Linked DNA regions of Homo sapiens: region 1 is linked to region 2. The links are contacts of gene promoters, found by promoter capture Hi-C in human tissues and cell types (Jung and others, 2019). All regions are on one chromosome and are shown on one strand. Each heading gives the region's core, a stretch centred on a gene start or on the middle of the fragment in contact. The rest is flanking DNA. Distances are from core to core; before and after follow the strand shown. Region 1 has its middle 66 kb from the start of MACF1. Region 2 holds the start of POU3F1 (POU class 3 homeobox 1).

Region 1 (3,246 bases), core at 419-2,918, 1.1 Mb after region 2:
CAGAGCCCCCTCTGTTGCCCACGTTGGAATGCAGTGGTGCGATCTTGGCTCACTGCAACCACCACCTCCCAGGTTCAAGAGATTCTCATGCCTCAGCCTCCTGAGTAACTGCAATTACAGATGTACACCACCACGCCTGGCTGATTTTTGTATTTTTGTTAGAAACAGGGTTTTGCCATGTTGGCCAGGCTGGTCTCGAACTTCTGGCCTCAAGTGATCTGTGTGCCTCGGCCTCTCAAAGTGTTGGGATTACAGGCGTGAGCCACCATACCCAGTCTTTTTTTATTTTTTTAAAGACAGGTTCTTGCTCTGTCGCACAGAGTGGAGTGCAGTGGCACAATCATAGCTCACTGTAACGTGTCTACCAGGCTCAACAGATCCTCCCACCTCAGTTTCTCAAGTATCTGAGACTACAGGCATGTGCCATTACACCTGGCTAATTTTTAAATTTTTTGTAAAGACGAAGTCTCATTTTATTGCCCAGGCTGGTCTCAAACTCCTGGGCTCAAGCCATCCTTCTGCCCTGGCCTCCCAAAGAGCTGGGATTATAGGCATGAGCCACTGTGCCCCAATTTATTTATTTTTTATTTTTTTACCTTCAGATGCTCTTTGGCAAGCAAGTAAGGATTGCTCAATTAAAAGTATTGCATTATCTCATTCAACTATATGAACATACAAAACTTAAAAAAATTTGTCTGAGGCCAGGCGTGGTGGGTCATGCCTGTATTCCCAGCACTTTGGGAAGCCGAGGCAGGTGGATCACCTGAGGTCGCGAGTTTGAGACCAGCCTGGCCAACATGGAGAAACCCCATCTCTACTAAAAATACAGAAATTAGCCGGGCATGGTAGCACGAGCCTATAATCCCAGCTACTAGGGAGGCTGAGGCAGGAGGATTGCTTGATCCTGGGAGGCGGAGGTTGCAGTTAGCCGAGATTGTGCCACTGCACTCCAGCCTGGGTAACAGTCGAGACTCCATCTCAAAAAAAAAAAAAAAAAAAAAAAGTCTGAAACAGTATTGGAAGCTTTAATTTCTATTTCAACAAATTTGTGCTACTCTGGATTATGTGCTACCTGTCACTCAAGGATCTTGTTGAAATACTTTCTTGTACAAAAACAACGAATCAAAACAAAACAAAACAAAAATGAGTGTACTTCATGTTGTATTTGAGTAGAGGTCCTAACAAACACTTGAAAAATGGCTGGTGGTAGGCTGGACGCGGTGGCTCACGCCTGTAATCCCAGCACTTTGGGAGGCCGAGGTGGGCAGATCACAAGGTCAGGAGATCGAGACTACCCTGGCTAACATGGTGAAAACCTGTCTCTACCAAAAATACAAAAAAAATTAGCCGGGCATGGTGGCGGGTGCCTGTAGTCCCAGCTACTCTGGAGGCTGAGGTGGGAGAATGGCGTGAACCTGGGAGGCGGAGCTTGCAGTGAGCAGAGATCGCGCCACTGCACTCCAGCCTAGGCGACAGAGAGAGACTCTGTCTCAAAAAAAAAGAAAAATGGCTGGTGTTAGATGAACACAGCTTTCTCTCATTTCAATAATGATATTGAAAGGTTTTAAAGGCCAAATAATTTTTTTTTTGGAGACAGAGTCTTGCTCTGTCACCCACGCTGTAGTGCAATGGCGCAATCTCAGCTCACTGCAACCTCCGCCTCCCAGGTTCAAGTGATTCTCCTGCCTCAGCCTCCTGAGTAGCTGGGATTACAGGTGAGTGCCACCATGCCCGGCTAATTTTTGTATTTTTAGTAGAGATGGGGTTTTACCATGTTGGCCAGGCTGGTCTCGAACTCCTGACCTCAGGTGATCCACCCACCTTGGCCTCCCAAAGTGCTGGGATTACAGGCGTAAGCCACCGCGCCTGGCCTAGGCCAAATAATTTTTATGAACTGTCTGGAGAAGCTTTGATGAGGAATAACAGTATCATTTTCAAATTGGCTTCTGCACAAACTACGTAATTTTGAGTATTCCATGTTAATGCATATGATGTAGCTGGCTCTTAATCACCCTATGAAAATGGAGTACAAGGCATGCTGAATACTTCAAATTCACAGATAACTACTAAAACTAATTTTAATCAACTGTCTCGTCATTTATTCCTACTTGAATTACCAAAGATGCTTGCTTATGGGGGGAAATTGAACAGATTTTTTTTCCTCTTGTTTACCCTTTACCTTTTTTAAAATGTTATCTGCCACTGTTTTTTTTTTTTTTCAGACAGTCTCGCTCTGTCGCTGCAACCTCTGCCTTCCAGGTTCAAGCGATTCTCCTGCCTCAGCATCCCAAGTAACTGGGATTACAGGTGTCCCCTACCACGTCCAGCTAATTTTTGTATTTTTAGTAGAGATGGGGTTTCACCATGTTGGCCAGGCTGGTCTCAAATTCCTGACCTCAAGTGATCCTCCCATCTCAGCCTCCCAAATTTGCCACTATTCTTTATATTCCAGCTAAAATGAACTAGTGCTTTCTGCTTTTTTTTTTCCTAGCTTTCCTGCTTTCATGCCTTTGCTCATGCTGTATCCTGTGCCTGCATTTTCCTTTAATTTCTACATTATATTTGGTCCTTACATATCCATCTCAAATGTTACTTTTTGTGGATCCTTCCCTGATTATCTCAGATACAAGTTATATCATCTTTCTGAACTGACATAATATTATTGAAAGAAATACACTTAAAAGTAATAGTAATAACTGACAACATTCAGAGTCTGTTACAAAATGTTTTCACATGTATTAGCTCATTGGAACCTCACAGATGTTTTTCATCACTCCTGTTTTACAGCTGAGGAAATTAAGGCTTAAGGAGATTAAGTAACTTGCCTGAGGTTACCCATAATTAGAACTAAATCTTTTTTTTTTTTTTTAATTTTTTTTAGAGACAAGGTCTTGGCTGTTGCACAGGCTGCAGTGCAGTGGTGTAAACATGGCTCACAGCAGCCTCAAACTCCTGGGCTCAAGAGATTGTCCCACTCCAGCCTCCTGAGTAGCTAGGACTATAGGTGTATGCCACTACACCCAGCTAAATTTTTGTGTTTTTTGTAGAGATGGGGTCTCACTGTGTTGCCCAGGCTGGTCTTGAACTCCTGACCTGAAATGATCCTTCTGCGTTAGTCCTCCAAAGTGCTGGGATTACGGGCATGAGCCATCATACCTAGCATAAATCTAAATCTTATGACCTCAAATCCCATGTTTTTTCCACCAAACAGTGCTATCTTACGATTCTTATCACTTGCTACTATGG
Region 2 (3,470 bases), core at 560-3,059:
TCGCTTCGTCCTCTCTCCCGGGGAATCCCTAACCCCGCACTGCGTTACCTGTCGCTTTGGGGAGGCCGCTGCCGGGATCCGGCCCCGAACAGCCCGGGGGGGCAGGGGCGGGGGTCGTCGAGGGGATGGGGGCAGAGAGCAGGCGGCGGGCAGGATGCCCGGGGTGAGTTGGCGAGTTCCGGATCTTCGCTCCTCTCTCCCGGGGCTCGGGCGACGCAGCCTACCGGGCTGTCTTCGCCGCTCACCGGAGAGGGTCGTCCGGGTGTTTGGTTTTGTTCGAAAGTTTCTGGGCTTTTTTTTTTTTTTGTAAAATCCAAAGCAACCGAACAAAAAGAGTCCAGGCCGCGCGGGCGGGCTGCGCGCCCGCGCCCTGCAGCGCGCCGGCGGGGGCCCGGCCCGCGGGGTCACTGCACTGAGCCGGGCAGTGTGTGGTGGTGGTGGTGGTGCAGCGCCGCCGGCGGGGGCGGTGGGGGCGCGGAGGGTGGCGATGCGCCGCCCCCGCCAGGCCCTAGCTCCCCAGGCGCGTATACATCGTCCATGGGCGGGTGGCCCGCGCCGGCCGCAGGGGTCATGCGCTTCTCCTTCTGCCGCCGGTTGCAGAACCAGACGCGCACCACCTCCTTCTCCAGCTGCAGGCTGTCTGCCAAGCCGGTGATCTCGTGCGCCGAGGGCTTGGGGCACTTGAGAAAGTGGCTCTCGAGCGCGCCTTTGACCCCCACCTCGATGGACGTGCGCTTCTTGCGCTTGCGGCCCTGCGCCGCGATCTTGTCCAGGTTGGTGGGGCTGCCGCTGGACGAGTCGGTCTCCTCCAGCCACTTGTTGAGCAGCGGCTTGAGCTTGCACATGTTCTTGAAGCTCAGCTGCAGGGCCTCGAAGCGGCAGATGGTGGTCTGCGAGAACACGTTACCGTAGAGCGTGCCCAGCGCCAGCCCCACGTCGGCCTGCGTAAAGCCCAGCTTGATGCGCCGCTGCTTGAACTGCTTGGCGAACTGCTCCAGGTCGTCCGAGCTGGGCGCATCCTCGTCCGAGTGCTCGCCCACCGATGAGCCGCCGCCGCCCGCGCCCGGGTGCAGGTGCGCCGCCGCCGCGTGCAGGCCGCCCGCGTGTGCATGTCCGTGTGCGTGTCCGTGGGCGCCCAGATGCGGCGGCGGCGACGGCTCCAGCTGCGCCTCGTGGCCATCCTCGTGCAGCGCGTGGTGCAGGCCCGGCCCCGCGCCGCCACCGCCCGCCGCCAGCATCCCGGCCAGGCCGCCGCCGCCGCCCCCCGGGTAGGCCGCCTGCGCGTACAGCCCGAGCGGCTGGGGCTGGTGGCCCCCGCTGGCCCCGGGCGAGGGCGACATGGCCGGGCCCAAGTGGTGCGCTGTGCTGCCCTGCGCCCATGCCGCGCCCGCGTGGGCCGCCCCCTGGTGCACCAGGCGCGCGTGGAAACCTCCGCCGCCGCCGCCGTCGTCGGCTCGGCCGGTGCCGCCGCCGCCTGCCTTGCCGTGTTCTAGGTGCGGGCCGCCGGCCCAATCGCCGCCGCCGCCTCCTCCCGTGGGTAGCCACTGGGGGTGCGCTAGGCCCACGGGGTGGCCCGCGCCCGCGCCCAGCCACTCGTGGTGCATCAGCTTCTGCACTTCGCGGTACGCGGCCCCTGCATGCAATCGCTCCGCGGCCGCCGCCGCCGCCGCCGCCGCCGCGGCGTCCGGGTGCATAAGCGGCCCGGTGCCCCCGGCTCCGCCACCGGGGCCCCGCGGCAGGTACTGCGCGGTGGTGGCCATGCCGCCCCGCGCCCTGCGCCGCGCCGCCGCCGCCGCTCCGCTCCGTCTGCGGGCCCCGCCGCCTCGCTCCGCCGGCTTAAAGCCCCGACCCGCTCGGCGCTCCGGAGCCCCACCCCGCCCGCCGCCCATTGGCTGCCCGCGGAGCTGCCTCCCGCCTCCCCTGCCCGGCCCCCGCCCCGCGCGCCCGCCCGCCACCCTGCCCGGCCGCCCAGAGCTCTCCATTGGGCGTCGCTCCCGGGGTCCCGCGCGCCGGCCGTGCTGATTGGCCGCTGGGGCTTCATTCACGGCCCCCCTACCGTCCGCGTACACACTCACGCCCCGGGGGCGCGGCCGCCACGTGGGGAGTGGCGCGGGGGTGGCCCTGGGACCGCACCCCCTCTCGTCCTGGCTGTGTGGGCCCCGCTTTCCCCCAGCGCTGGAGACTCCGAGCCCGGCCGGTCCCACATTCCACGCGAGCTGAATTCCCGCCCGCATCCCGCCCGGGCAGCAGGGATTGCCGGCTCCGGGAGGCGCTCGGGCTCCGAGAAGCGGCTCAGCCCCGCGCCCCTCCCTCCTCAGTACCGCTGCCGGCGGACCAGGATTCCCGCGGGTCCTGGCGGCTGCGAGCGCGAGGCGGCGCGGATTCGCGGCTCGGTTCCGGCGCGACTGCTCACCGCGCCCGCCTCGCCTCCCGCGGCTGCCAGCGTGCACTGGGCGCTCCTCGGCGCGTCTGCCCGGCCCGTCTCGGCTTTCCTTCTCCTTCCTCTAGTCCCAGCGTCACAACTCCGCCGACCTCCTCTGCCCTGAGAGCGCGTCCGGTGCGGGCGGAGTCGGACGGACTCTGGCTTCACGCCTCGCGCGGGCACACCTTCTCCCGGGCACTGAGGCCCAGGTGAGTACCGCGCGGGCAGCTGGGGCTGGGACGGCGGGCGGCAGCGGTTCTACAGTCCTACGCGAGCCCCTGGTACCCGGCCGCGCTCCGGGGTTCCAGAAGGAGAAGATCTCGAGGTGGAGACTGTGGCTCCGGGGAAAACGCTGCTGGCAAGGGCGCTAGTTGGGGGTGGACGTTGGGCCCAGGGGTATCTGACCTGCGCCGCTGCAGCCTTCTCGCTCCTTCTCCCAGCTTGAACGGCTCATCGGCTGTGGTCGTGGTGGGATCACGCCCCGGGAGAGGAGAAGGATGGGCTCAGGGAAGGGGCTCGGGCTCTCCAGAAATCCGGCGTGCAGGCCGGGAGCTGTCCAGCCTCGCTAAGAGCCCTGGGCTAGAGTTTGCCCGGACTTGCCTGGAGCTGCTGAAAAGGGAATTGAGATTGAGGAGGCCTTGTTGGAAAGGTGGGCAGTGGAATTTAGCTACCTCCTCACGCCCCAGCCCTTGAGGACTCCCTGAAGGATCTTGAGTGGAGTCGGACCTCACTGCAGTTCCTTTGTGCCTTCTTACCCGACCTTGGGCCCCAGGCTGAGGGTACTGAGCTGTGTTTTCTCCTCTTCCCCACACCGAGGCTTGGGTCCCAGGGAGTCTTCAGCTGCCAGTCCTCCCTCTTTTCTCTCCTGGATCTAGCCTCAAGTGGATTTATAGCTTACAGGGCCCTGGGGTCCCAGATCACAGAACTGAGCTGGGGGCCCACCTAGGGCCCCACTGGGCAAATCAGGTCTGTGGAATAAATCCTTAGATTGAAAAAAGTTGCTGGGGGCTCAGGTGGCAGCTGCCATTGGAACGATCCAGGGCGGCTG

Evidence for each region. Contacts are between HindIII fragments. The study calls those that stand out against the background at their distance.
Region 1: a fragment that was not itself captured here is called in contact with the fragment with the promoter of POU3F1 in region 2 in 1 of the 25 tissues and cell types used here (heart left ventricle).

The regions. Positions count from the first base shown.
Region 1 is chr1:39,137,093-39,140,338 of GRCh38, forward strand. It overlaps a transcript of MACF1 not described here. Among named protein-coding and RNA genes, the nearest start is that of MACF1, 66 kb to the right of the region's middle. RefSeq lists an enhancer at 3,058-3,246. The HindIII fragment of the contact is 5,998 bases long and covers 1-3,246 here.
Region 2 is chr1:38,044,984-38,048,453 of GRCh38, forward strand. POU3F1 (POU class 3 homeobox 1) reads right to left here and starts at 1,810. Exons shown (of 1, transcript NM_002699.4): 1 at 1-1,810. The coding sequence starts at 1,760. The coding sequence ends at 405. It overlaps MIR3659HG (MIR3659 host gene), which reads left to right and starts at 2,151. Exons shown (of 5, transcript NR_168386.1): 1 at 2,151-2,631. RefSeq lists a silencer at 1,871-2,200 and enhancers at 2,113-2,613, 2,614-3,114. The HindIII fragment of the contact is 7,503 bases long and covers 1-3,470 here.